2 separate regions of the Homo sapiens genome follow, and region 2 is linked to region 1. Evidence: promoter capture Hi-C in 16 types of primary human blood cells and fetal thymus (Javierre and others, 2016). All regions are on one chromosome and are shown on one strand. Each heading gives the region's core, a stretch centred on a gene start or on the middle of the fragment in contact. The rest is flanking DNA. Distances are from core to core; before and after follow the strand shown. Region 1 holds the start of MYO1F (myosin IF). Region 2 holds the start of ACTL9 (actin like 9).

What was found. Contacts are between HindIII fragments. The CHiCAGO score rates a contact against its expected background, and 5 or more counts as called.
Region 2: a contact is called between the fragment with the promoter of ACTL9 here and the fragment with the promoter of MYO1F in region 1, in 1 of 17 cell types (monocytes). The highest score is 5.6, in monocytes.

The regions. Positions count from the first base shown.
Region 1 is chr19:8,573,712-8,580,561 of GRCh38, forward strand. It overlaps MYO1F (myosin IF), which reads right to left and starts at 3,731. Exons shown (of 28, transcript NM_012335.4): 1 at 3,596-3,731. The coding sequence starts at 3,598. ADAMTS10 (ADAM metallopeptidase with thrombospondin type 1 motif 10) reads right to left here. Exons shown (of 26, transcript NM_030957.4): 26 at 6,529-6,850. RefSeq lists enhancers at 2,176-2,235, 2,576-2,635, 2,806-2,985 and silencers at 3,106-3,155, 3,693-3,842, 5,063-5,257. The HindIII fragment of the contact is 24,150 bases long and covers 1-6,850 here.
Region 2 is chr19:8,695,051-8,701,900 of GRCh38, forward strand. It overlaps ACTL9 (actin like 9), which reads right to left and starts at 3,745. Exons shown (of 1, transcript NM_178525.5): 1 at 2,350-3,745. The coding sequence starts at 3,651. The coding sequence ends at 2,401. The HindIII fragment of the contact is 13,278 bases long and covers 1-3,988 here.

The DNA of each region.
Region 1 (6,850 bases), core at 2,481-4,980:
TGGTGGCAGGTGCTTGTAATCTCAGCTACTTGGGAGGCTGAGGCACGAGAATTGCTTGAAGCCAGGAGGTGGAGGTTGCAGTGAGCCGAGATTGCACCACTGCACTCCAGCCGGGGTGACAGAGCGAGACTCTGTCTCAGAAACAAAACAAAACAAAAAAACAATACTAGCCATCAACAACCACACATAACCAACTACCATTAGCAACCACAGAAAGCAGCAGTCACCAGTCCTATCCTGTTCAAAACCCAACATTGAACCAGCACCACCATTGCTGATCATCATCTTACCAGAAACCAACAATAAACTACCAGCAGCAAATGAACGCTACTACCAACACCTTTCCTCTCCAAATAACAGCAACCACCGATGGTCATCATTCCACTGGTCACCAAGCATCTCCAGAATTTCCAGCTGAAAACAATCCACCACCAACGAACAACATTAAACACCAACCGCCACCACCACCAGCCCACCTGCAAGAGCCATTATCACCACGAACCTGCAACAAGAAACAGCCACAACCACCACCACAACCAATGACACCAACAACCCAGCAATGACCACTCGCAGCAACTCCTCCCCAATTACCACAATCGTCACCTCCGTCCATCCTCATTGCTGAATCCAGAAATGAATGGACATCCCAGCTAATGGCAGCTACCATGGATCAAGTGCATGTTATGTGCTCTGTAAAGCAATGGTCCCCAACATTTTTGGCACCAGAGACCGGTTTAATGGAAGACAATTTTTCCATGGACCATGGAGCGGGGCATTAGATTTTCTTTTCTTTCTTTTCCTTTATTTCTTCTTTTTTCCCTTTCTTTCTTTCTTTCTTTCTTTCTTTCTTTCTTTCTTTCTTTCTTTCTCTCTCTCTCTCTCTCTCTTTCTTTCTTTCTTTCTTTCTTTCTTTCTTTCTTTCTTTCTTTCTTTCCTTTCTTTCTCTTTCTTCTTTCTCTCTTTCTTTCTTTCTTCCTTTCTCTTTCTCTCTTTCTTTCTTTTTCTTTCTCTTTCTTTCTTTCTTTTTCTTTCTTTCTTTCTCTCTCTCTTTCTTTTTTTTTTGAGATGGAGCCTCTCTCTGTGGCCCAGGCTGGAGTGCAGTGGCGTGATCTCGTCTCATTGCGACCTCTGCCTCCTGGGTTCAAGTGATTCTCCTATCTCAGGTTCCCGGGTAGCTGGGGTTACAGGCGCGCACCACCACGACTGGCTAATTTTTGTATTTTTAGTAGAGACAGGGTTTTGCCATGTTGGCCAGGCTGGTCTTGAACTCTTGACCTCAGGTGATCCGCCCACCTCGGCCTCCAAAAGTGTTGAGATTACAGGCATGAGCCACTGCACCCTGCCAACGGCATTAGATTTTCTTTTTCTTTTTTTTTTTTTTTTGAGACGGAGTCTGGCTCTGTCGCCGAGGCTGTAGTGCAATGGTGTGATCTTGGCTCACTGCAACCTCCGCCTCCCGGGTTCAAGCGATTCTCCTGCCTCAGCCTCCCGAGTAGCTAGGATGACAGGCATGTGCCACCACACCCAGCTCATTTTTGTATTTTTAGGAGAGACGGGGTCTCACCACGTTGGCCAGGATCGTTTCTATCTCTTGACTTCGTGATCTGCCCGCCTCGGCCTCCCAAAGTGCTAGGATTACAGGTGTGAGCCACCGCACCCGGCCGGGCATTAGATTGTCATAAGCAGCATGCAACCTGGATCCCTCGTGTGTGCAGTTCACAACAGGGTTTGCGATCCTGTGATAATCTAATGGCGCCCCCGAGAATCTGAGAGGAGGTGGAGCTCGGGCTTGCTTGCCTGCCACTCATCTCCTGCTCTGTGACCCGATAGGGCTCATGGTTTCTAACAGACAGACCATGGCCCGATAGCAGTCCATGACCCCGGGGGTTGGGGACCCTGTTGTAAAGGACTTCAGAAATACTGTTTCATTGAATCCTTCAGCGATCTTCCTGGCATTCACCACTCCTCCAGGAAGATTTCAGCATCCCCAGACAGAGGTGGGTGTCATTTTTTTCTCTTCTATCATCCTCTGCGATACGGGTGGCCCCTCCCAGACCTTGTCTGCCAAGCCGACTGTTGACTAAGCATTTTCAGAGGGCTTCCTTGGGGAGGGGTTGCCTTTCTTTCAAGTAGCAAATCACTTCCTGTGTTCTTTTGATCAAAGCCCTGCCCATCCCAGGACCTGAGCCTCCCTGGCTTGCTTCTCATCTTGGAAGAATTCCCACCCCAACAGTCTCAGAGCTCCAGCTGATGGTTTGGGTGTGAATTCCGGGATGCCCAATTTCTCATCAGCTTTCCTTTTTTGAGACGGAGTGTGCTCTGTCACCCAGGCTGGAGTGCAGCGGCAGGATCTCAGCTCACTGCACCCTCCGCCTCCTGGGTTCAAGTTATTCTCTTGCCTCAGCCTCATATGTAGCTGGGATTACAGGCGTGTGCCACCACGCCCAGTTAATTTTTTGTATTTTTTAGTAGAGACGAGGTTTCACCACGTTGGCCAGGCTGGTCTCGAACACCTGACCTCAAGTGATCTACCTGTCTCAGCCTCCTAAAATGCTGGGATTACAGGCATGAGCCACTGTCCCTGGCCCTCACTGGCTTCCTGAAAGAAGGTGTTGTCTCTCAGACTAACACCACCTCTGCCTCTTGCCCTATGTCCCTGACTCCACCCTAGTAAGCTGTACCTGCCAAGAATCCTGCAGTGGCCGCTGTCACAGCCACATGCTCTCATCCTCACTGACTGAATGACGAGAAATGAAAGCTGAAGTGGTCTACACAGCAGAGAGCTGTGGGGTGGGGTCAGCCCTGGCCACCTCTTACTTTGCGTCTTATGGTGGTACGATACTGCTAGGAATAGCGCCATGATCACGACAGTCTCCCCGTTGCTATCATCGACAGACCTCAGACTTGACAGGCAGCAACACCTCTGGCTGCCATCCTCCTCTTGGGATAAGGGATGCCCACCAAAGGGTGGCATGGACGTATTCAGCCTCTCCTGCCTCTGCTGCAGCCATACCGCCCGTCACCGGCACAGGGAGGGCGTCAATCCACCCCATCGCTTGTTAGACATAGCTTCCCATCTCAGCCGAGGACTCTGTGGCAGAACCCACAGACCTTGAGAATGTTGCAACTGAAAGACCCCTGAAGAGCAACTTCCGCATCTAGACGGATTTCCAAATATGACATCTGTGGGAACCGGGGCCAAGAGAGGGGAAGTGACTAGCCCAAGGCTACACAGGGAGACGAGAGACTGGGCTGGACTGGGAAAGGGCTCCCTTAATTTGCAAGCAAAGGAGGCTATGTCCTTGTCCCTGCAGACTCTGTGATTCTCCCTGGGCCACCTTCTGTCTTCCAGGTCCTGCCCTATCCTTGGATCCAGGGATACCACCCTGGCATCCCCACCACCTACAGATGGGAGCTTGCTCCCTGGTAAGGGATGCTGGAGGCACCTGAGCTGCACTGAGAGACACCCCACCCCCACAGAAGTCCACCATGCCCCTCCCCTCACCCCAATTTCTGATGGTCATTTTTAGGACACCTCCACCTGGCTGGTGTCCCTCCTCTTTCTTCTTCCAGATCCCACCCTTGAAGGACTTACCATGGTGGGGGGCTGGTGTCTGGGCTCCTGGAGGCTCCTGAATGGGTCGTGATGGAGGTGCAGGTTCAGGGGGATCTTGGGGGTGGCTTGGGCATGGCCCTGCTTCTGCCCGTTCACCGGACTCCCGGCTTTAGTTCCTCTTACAACAGCCCCTTCTCACTTCCTTTGGCGGGAGGGGCCGAGGCCATGGGGGAGGGAAGCTGGGTGTGGAGGGGGGCGGGGAGCTGGCTGTTTGGGGCTCTGAGCCTGAAGGGAGGGGTCAGAACTTGATGGCAGCCACTACTGGACCTCAGAGGCCTCTTCCCCAACTCCTTGGGGACAGGGCTGCTGCAGGAACATTTGGGTCAGCTGGCTGCAGGACGAACCACCTCTTTTCAGGGCGATTCAGGAAGCATTTGGGCTTCCCGGGTCTCTTTTTAAAACCAAGGAAGGGGCCCAGGGGAGGTGGCTCACGCCTGTAATCCCAATACTTTGGGGGGCCAAGGTTGGAGGATCGCTTGAGTCCAGGAGTTTGAGACCAGCCTGGGCTATATAGCATGACCCCATCTCTACAAAAAATGAAAAGAAAAAAAATTAGCTGGGCATGGTGGCATGAGCCTGCAGTCCCAGCTACTCAGAGGGCTGAGGTGGGAGGATTGCTTGAACCTGGGAGGTGGAGGCCTCAGTGAGCCCTGATTGCGCCACTGCACTCCAGCCTGGGCGAAAGAGTGAGACCCTGTCTCTAAAAACAAACCAGAAAAAACAAAAAAACCAAAAAAACAACAACAACAGGGAAGGGTGCCTTCTTCAGCTGTGTCTGCTCTGGGCATCCCTGGGCAACCTCCTTCATTATTATTATTGTTATTATTTTGAGACGGAGTCTAGCTCTGTCACCCAGGCTAGAATGCAGTGGTGCAATCTCAGCTTACTTTAATCTCCGCCTCCTGGGTTCAAGCGATTCTCCTGCCTCAGCCTCCTGAGTAGCTGGGATTACAGGTGCCCACCGCCACACCTGGCTAATATTTGTATTTTTAGTAGAGACGGAATTTCGCCATGTTGGCCAGGCCGGCCTTGAACTCCTGACCTCAGGTGATCCTCCCAACTCGGCCTCCCAAAGTGCTGGGATTACAGGCATAAGCCACCACGCCTGGCCCAACCTCCCTCTTTAGATGACCCTCAGAAGTCACACGTGTTTGTGTGCAGAAGTGGAGGGTACTGGGAAGCAGGTGCATCTGAAAGGTCCCTGACTTTGGATGTCACATCTAGATTTAACAGCCTCCAGTTTGGCTACTTCCTGGATGACTTAGTTACTCCCTTTTCTCATTGTAAAATGGGAACGTGGGTCCCCCCAGCAGAGCCTGGCCCAGGTACGTGTCAGCCTATGAGCTGGTCTTTGGGACACCAGCCAACCACCTGAGGCTCCTCTTGACATGTGAGGAAATGGCAGTTCTAATAGGTTGTTACTTCCCCACACCACCCAGCAAGGAGGTGGCCGAGGCAGGACCCGACCCTGGGAGACCCTGGGGGACCCATGTTCAGATCTATCTTTGGTCCAGGGCGATAAACCCGCATCCCCCTTGAAGATGTTAATATGCAGCGCCCCTAGTGGCCACAGCTGGGAAGGAGCCCGTCTCTGCTGGAATCTCCTGAGCGAGTTTGCAGAATTGACGGGCTTGGGGCATGCAATTCTCAGCAATGTCTCCAGGCACTCAAGAGTGAATATGAATGGGTAAGAGGACCCCACTTTGTTGGGGGCCATCAGGGGAGGCTTCTAGGAAGAGGCAACGTTTGTGCTGACACCGGCGAGTAAGCTGGAGTTAAAAAAGGTAAAGGGGCAGGAGCGTGCACCTGGCCATGCTAAGCGCTCAAGCAAAGGCCCAGATATGGGAAAACCATAGGGCAATTGAGGAAGTTCGGGGAGGCTGGTGTGGCTGGAGCATGCGGAGTGACGGAGAGTGTGATGGCCAGGGTGGCAGGTGCTAGACCGTGTGGCTTTAAGAGCCTCTGTGAGGGCCAGGCATGGTGGCTGATGCCTGTAATCCCAGAACTTTGGGAGGCTGAGGTGGGAGGATCGCTTGAGCCCAGGAGTTCCAGACCAGCTTGGGCAACATAGCAAGACCTCGTCTCTACAAAAAATTAAAAAATCAGCTAGGTGTGCTGTTGCACCTATAATCTCAGTTACTTGGCAGGGTAGGCAGGAGAATCGTTTAAGCCCAGGAGTTCAAGGCTGCAGTGAGCTGAGATCGTGCCACTGAACTCCAGCCTGGGCTACAGAGTGAGACCCTGTCTCAAAAAACAAAAACAAAAAAGCAAAACCCTTCCACGAGAAGCTGTTGTACTTTTCTCCTAAAATCCCTGGGTTCCTGTCTGCAATGTTAAAAGTCCCCTTCTGGCTGGGCACGGTGGCCCATGCCTGTAATCCCAGCACTCTGGGAGGCCGAGGCGGGCAGATCACGAGGTCAGGAGATCGAGACCATCCTGGCTAACACGGTGAAACCCCGTCTCTACTAAAAAAGTACAAAAAATTAGCTGGGCATGTTGGCGGGCGCCTGTAGTGCCAGCTACTCGGGAGGCTGAGGCGAGAATGGCATGAACCCAGGAGGCGGAGCTTGCAGTGAGCCGAGATCGTGCCACTGCACTCCAGCCTGGGCAACAGTGCAAGACTCCGTCTCAAAAAAAAAAAAAAATAAAAAAAAAAAATAAATAAATCAGCTGGGTGTGGTCGTGCACGCCTGTAGTCCCAGCTATTCAGAAGGTGGAAGTGGGAGGATCACTTGAGTCCAGGAGATCAAGGCTGCAGTGAGCTATGATAGGCATAGCTGGGCGACAGGGACCGTCTCAGGAAAAAAAAAAAAGAAGTCCCCTTTTGGCTGTTGGGTAGACCTGGGAGAATGGGTGGTCCTTTCCAGACCTGGGTGGGGGCTACTGGATGCACTGACACACACACACCGCAATTCGTAGAAATCTACACAAGACAGAACTTTATTGATGTAGGGCTTCCTGGCAGGAGTGTGTGGGCCCCAGGGCAGGGTCTGTAGCACCATGAGGGGGTGGCCTGGATGTCGGGGTGCCCCTGGGGCGGGCAGGGCAGAGGTTGGGGTGGATCCTCCCCCTAGTCAGGTCAGGGGAGGGTGTCAGGGAGGTGGTGCTACCCCCCCCCCTCCCATAGCAGACACAGATTCCCCCCCAGCTCGGAGTGGAGGGGTAGGGCAGTGCTGGGGGGCAGGGCACCGGCAGACCACCTCCCCACCCCTACTCTTCACAGTACATATTCCG
Region 2 (6,850 bases), core at 2,495-4,994, 120 kb after region 1:
ATGGTGAAACCCCATCTCTACTAAAAATACAAAAAATTAGCCAGATGTGGTGGCATGCACCTGCAGTCCCAGCTATTCGGGAGGCTGAGGTGGGAGGATCACCTGAGCTGGGGGAGGCTGAGGCTGCAGCGAGTCATGATCATGCGGCTGCACTCCAGATGGGGTGACAGAGCGAGACCCTGTCTCAAAAACAAACAAACAAACAAACAAACAAACAAACAAACAAACACAGCAACTGAGCACAAAACTCCTGAAAAGTTAGCAATGCACAGAAAGACACAGCAGGAGCCTACAGATCCTGTGAGTGATGCTCCTTAAATAGTGACTGGCTGAAAGAATGAATGAATGAGTGAATGAATGATTTCTTGGGCTGAGCAAAAAGAGGACTTGACACAGACATGGATAACCTCCAGCAGCTCCTGTCTACTGTGTTGATAAACTGGGGGTTGTGTCCAGACTGCTGGCTGGAGGTCCGGATGTCCTTCAGGCTGGGCTAGGGGGCATGAAGACAGAGGGTCCTACCTCCAGAGGGGACCCAGGACGCTCGCCATCCTGAGAGGCTGGATTCCCCCTCCCGACCCTGGCAGGGACAGGGTGGGGTGGGAGAGGCCTCCTCGAGCATCCTCAGTGCACAACCCAGAGAAAGCTCATGGGACTGAGAGGAACAGGCTGAGAGATGGACTTTTAATGGAATGGAGGGAGATGGGGATGCATAGCCTGGGACACATGGGCCCTGGGTGCCTGTGCTGGGGCGAGTGAGAGAGCCAGTGTCCAGGTGAAGCTCCTTGCCTGGGGCATCTGCCCCATGACTGCAGTGGACTGGGAAGCCCTTAAGAGTATCACTACCCACTGATGTCCAAGTCTTGCTTGATAGTATGGTGTCCAGGGAATGGTCTTGGGGAGTGGGTTCCGGAGAGCCTGTGAGAGTTCCAGGGCGGGGTGCACATCATGGGGTGCCTGGGAGGGTATCTTTGGGAGAGTCTGTGGAGGAGGGAGTTGGGAGGTGTTGGAACACAGAGGAGGGCCTAGGGTCTAGTGGGGTCGTTATAGGATGCTCATGGGGACCTGAGCATGACATTTGGGAGGCTGGCTCTTTCCTGGGAGGAGCTGGGGGCTGAGGAAGAGGGTCAGGAAGTGTCCTGTGAGAGAGAACATTTGGGAGTATTTCGGGCGGAGACACAGTGCAAGAAAGTGGTCTTAGAGCAACAGGGGTCCACCCTGGGGTTTCGGGGGTGGATCTCAGAATGATGTGTTTTGGGAAGATGGATGGGGGATGGGTGATGGGACCACCTGGTCAGTGGAGGTGGGGCCAGGGGAGGTCTGGGGGAAAAATCCTGAGGGGAGGGGAGAGTTCTGCAGGGATGATGGATGCCAGGGGCATCCCATGGTGGGACCATTGTAGGAGAAACCCTTGAAAGTCAGAATTCAGGTCTCTGTGATGGATCTGGGGGGTCAGCACTTGTGGGGGGCATCCTAGGGGAAACCAATGAAGAGGTGGATTTGGGGTGCTGAGAACCAGGGGTATCTTGACAAGTGGAATCTTGACAAGTGGAATTTAAGAGTGTGTTTGGGGGGATTAGAAATAAGGGGAAGATTATGGGGGTGCACCCAGGGGTTGGAGCACTCACGGGAAGATTCTGGGAGGAGGTTGGAGCATTCCGGGGTAGAGACTGGGTTGGGGGGTCCCTGAGGAGCATACTAAGGGGGGTGGCAGTTTGGAGGGTTTGGAGCCCAGGGGTATTTTGGGATGCTATATCAAAAGCAATAGATAATGGGGTGAGATTAGGGAGTCAGTATTTGAGGATGTCTTGGGCACATAGTGGGTAATTAATGAATGTATGTGGGATCAATGCATGAATCACTTAAACTAGAAATGGAAGGAATTGGGTATGTGGCTTGGGTATGTGGCAGACCCTAGGGGTGTGTGTGGGCATGGGGTGGGTGGTCAGAGGCTTTCATGTTCTTCATGTTTGGGGTTGGGGGCAGGTGCCAGGTGGAGGCTTATCTATGACTCATAGGAGGAGGTGATATTTCTAACAATAGCCTTGAGGTAGTGAACTCCCCATCTCTGGGAGTGTGTAAATGGGAAGGGCACTTGTCAGAGGTGGTCTGGGGAGGGGGTGTCCCAACCCAAGGGTGCCTGGGGAGGGGCACAGATCACAGGAGGATGGGTTGACAGGATTAGAACTTAGTGGTCTGTTGGGAGTTATTCATGGGGAAGGTGGGTTTAGGGGGTCAGGATTGGGGTGTCTCAGGGCATGCATCACAGGAGGTGAGTTAGGTCAGCCTGTGGGGCGAGGTGCCCAGGAGTGGATGGGGCAGGCCCTGGAGGAAGGACAGGACAGAGCCGGCTGTAGCAGAGGCTTTACTGCCCCCACGCCCTCCCCAGCTCTGCCCTGGTCAGTAGCATTTGCGGTACACGATATAGGGACCCTGTTCCTCGTACTGCTCCCGCAGGACCCAGCAGGACTGGAAGGCGCGCAGGGAGGCCAGGATGGAGCCCCCGATCCATACGGAGAAATTCCTGGTGGGCTGGGCAGCCACCACCACGTGGGTCTCGGCTGGCAGAGCGCGCAGCAGCTCTGCCCGGAAGCGACCCTCGAAGCCGGTGAAGAGCGAGGACCCACCGCAGAGAAGCACGTTTTGGGCCAAGTCCGCGCGCATCTCCAGTGACAACTTGCGGAGACTCTGCTTGGCCATGGTGGAGAGGCCGACGGGTGACAGCCCCGGGACCTCTGGGGGGTTGAACAGCAGCTCCGGACACTGGAACAGCTCCTTGCCCAGGGTGACCGTGCGCCCATCGGGCAGCTTCAGAGTCCGCTTGTACTCCTGCTCCGGCCGGGCCTGCTCCTTCTGGAAGTCGGAGGCCACGTAGCAATAGTGGTGCTTAATGTTCTCCACTAGGTCCAGGTCCTGCTGTCCCAGGGGCAGGCCGGCCTGGAGCAGCATCTCCGCCAGGAAGGCGGTCAGGTTGTTGCCCGCCAGGTCCAGACGCTCCGTGGCGTGGAGCAGGTTGTAGCCCTGGAAGACGGGCACTGTGTAGGTGACCCCGTGTCCCGTGTCCACCACCAGCCCGCTGACACGACCGTGGGCGTAGACAGACAGCACCGACTGCGATGCCACGTACATGGCTGGGGAGCGCAGCGACTCGAAGGCCACCTCCACTAGCTTCTCGCGGTTGGTGGCCGGGCTGAAGGGTGGGTCGGAGAACAGCAGCGGGTGGTCGTGGGTGGCCACTCGGAGGTCGTGCTCCAGCAGGTGGCGCCAGATGAGCTCGGCGGCATCCCAGTCCACGACGATGCCGCTGCGCAGGGGTTGCACCAGCGTCAGCTCTGGGAGCACGCGGGCTGCCTCGCCGATGAACGTCTGCAGCCCGGACTGCCCCGAGGTGGCGGGTTTCTTGGGCTGGCAGCCCAGGATGGTGGCCACGGTGTAGGTGGGGCTGGCCTGCCCAGCAAAACCTACCTTACAGGTGCCTGTGCCCATGTCAATAACCACCGCGCCGGTCTTTGGTGGCAGCCTGTCGGCCACCATGCCGGGGGAGTCCCGCTGCAGGGGCTTGTTCACCACGTTGGGACTGGGGTTTGGGCCGGGCCTGGGGGCCTCCAGGGAGGACTGGGATTCCGAGGACTTGGGGCGACTTGCATCCATGGTTGCGGGACGCCAGGTGAGGGGGCTTTTCCTCTGGGGTTGGGGTTGCGGGGAGAAGAGGTTGAGGCCCGGCCAGTGGGGAGGGCAGGCAGACAGGGGGAGGGGTGGGCCCGCAATCTATGACGTCACGGTGCCCCTTCAGTCTTCTTAAGACATCACAATGCAGCCAAGAGGATGGGTCCCTGCCCAGCCCTGCCTGCCCAAAGGCTGTCATCTCTTCTCTGAAGAGCCAAATTTGGAGGAGGAGATGAGCATCTCAGAGCAGGGCCCTCTTAACACATTTCTGTCGGATGCGCTAGAAGCTAATACGATGGCACCTGGTTTTTGAGAAAAGACAAGCTTTTTGTTGCATGTCAACCCACTGGGAGCTAGGAATCCAGCACAAGTCTGTTTCTCAGCTGGCTTTAAGGCAGTAATTTTATTAGAAAAGTTCTGGGGCCGGGGGCTGTGGCTCACACCTGTAATCCCAGCACTTTGGGAGACCGAGGTGGGAGATCACCTGAGGTCAGGAGTTCGAGACCAGCCTGGCCAACATGGTGAAACCCGTCTCTACCAAAAAATACAAAAATTAGCCTGGCATGGTGGCGCATGCCTGTGGTCCCAGCTACTGGGGAGGCTGAGGCAGGAGAATCACTTGAACCCAGGAGGTGGAGGTTGAAGTGAACCAAGATCATGCCACCGCACTCCAGGCTGGGGGATGGAGTGAGACTCTGTCTCAAAAGAAAAAGAAAATAAAAGAAAAAAAATTAGCCAGGCATGGTGGCACATGCCTGTAGTCCCAGCTACTAGGGAGGCTGAGGCAGGAGAATCTCTTGAACCCGGGAGGTGGAGGTTGCAGCGAGCCAAGATCATGCTACTGCACTCCAGCCTGTATGACAGAGCGAGACTCATCTCAAAACAAACAAACAAACAAACAAAGAAACAAACAAAAAACCCTCATAAGTGGAAGGCATTTCAGCAAGTTGTTTCTTTTTTGATCTGCCATTCTGCAAGCTCAAACATTTCTTTGGGGCATGGTTTCACTAAAAACATGCAAAATTGGTTTCTCTAACTCTTTGGGCCACGCTTTCAGGAAGACCCAGGAATCCTCCTCTGGGTACCTCGCCATGAAGCTATTTACAGCCTAGTGGCAGAGAGCTTGCCACAGGCCTCCCTAGAATATTAGAATATTCCTCCTCAGAATATTAATTAGAAGGTGGGGCGGGCTAGCATGGCTTCCTGGTTTCCAAATGGAGACAGAGGCCAGCCTTGGTTGGGGATGGAGAGAGGCAGGGAGAGACAGGAACACCCCTGTCCTAGATTCTTTGCTTCCTCTGCTATATTCACTGCCTGAATCATTCTCCCTGTCCCATTCCTGCCAAGAAGGAATTTGCCTCTTCAAATCTCAGTCTGATGCCACCTCCTCCTGGAAGCCAACCCTGATTTCTACTCTGTACTCCAACTAGATGAGGGATGGGGGAAGTCTGCCTTCTCTCCAGGGGTTGTTACCTGCTTCCTCCTGGCAGGAGAGGGGCTCAGTGAGATACAAGAAGGGGTTTCAGTATAGATAAAAGGGGAGAGGGTGCATTTGGGAGGAAGGAATTATCTCAACAATAAATAGCAGGCTTCAAAATGCATTAGGAGAGTTGCTTCAAGACCATGGCTGTTTTTGGTGATATCAGATATCACCTGTTAGTTAAAGCAAATAAAAACGTTTTTCTTAGTGTATGTTCATGCATGTGGTGGTAGAAATCACCAGGAATAGTGCTAGTGAATGTCTTATGGGATATCTAAATGAAAGAGGTTTAATTTTCTAGTTGTGTCTAGATTTATTACTCTGCCAGAGTGTGGTTTATTGAGCATTTTAATTAATTATTGATTTACTGGTATGTGTGGTCTAATCCATGCTTTTGGAAATATTTACTCAGCAATTTATTGAGGGTCTGTTTTTTGGACTGTTCACAACAACCAGAAATACACTAAGTGATAACACTTTATTGTTTTCAATTTTTTTTTGAGACTGGGTCTTGCTATATTGTCCAGGCTGGAGTGTAGTGGTGCAATCACTGCTCACTGCAGCCTCCTTAACCTCGTGGTCTCAAGCAATCCTCCCACTTCAGCCTCCAAAGTAGCTGGGACTATAGGCATGTGCTACTATCTCCGGATAAGTTTTTAATTTTTTGTAGAAATGGGGTCTTGCTATGTTGCCCAGGCTGATCTTGAGCTCCTGGGCTCAAGTGATCCTCCTGTCTTAACCTCCCAAAGTGCTGGGATGACAGGGATTAGCCACCATGCCTGGCCTTTCTTCATTTTCTGATTTTAAAACATGGCAACTTCTTATGGCAACTTTATGACTTAGGAATGGGTACTATGTCTATTTTTTTGATGGAAAAGAAGCTCAGAGAGGTCAAGTGATTGTTCAAAGTCACAACTGGTATGAGACAGAGGCAGGAGTTGAGCCTACATCTTTGACTTACTTCAGTGGCTGACTGTGAGTCTGGGAAATTGTGAAATCTAAGATCCACCCAAAACAGCCAGGCATGGTGGCTCACATCTGTAGTCCGAGATACTAGGGATGCTGAGGTGGGAGGATCACCTGAGCCCAGGAGTTGGAGGCTGCAGTGAGCCAAGATCACACCACTGCACCCAGCCTGGGTGACAGAGCGAGACCCTGTCTCAAGGAACAAACAAACAAACAAACATACAAACAAACAAGAAAAACCCACTAAAAATAGAACAGAAACAAAGGTTGGGACTCTGTGAGCCTCCATTTCCTCTCTTCTTGGATAAAATGAGGATACCTTGTCTGGCACTTAATAGATGCTAGCTTCTGAGATACTGAAGCAACAATATAGGAAAATATCGTGATTATAGGCAACAAAGCCATGATGTGCCTAAGGCCACAGATCCGGGGCCAGGCTTCTGGAATTTAAGCCCTGACTCCTCTGCTTAATAGCTGAGGCAAACTACTAACTGTGACTCAGTATCCCCATTTGCAAAATGGGAGTAATAATAGTGCCACCTTCAAAGTGCAGCTATGAGGATGGGCAAGTTATTGTTTTCTAGTGTTTAGGTCAGTGGTTCACACATAGTAAGTGCTATGTGAGGGTTTGTTACATCAATGATAAGTACTGGCTGGACGCGGTGGCTCACGCCTGTAATCCCAGCACTTTGGGAGGCTGTGGTGGGTGGATCACCTGGAGGTCAGGAGTTGGAGATC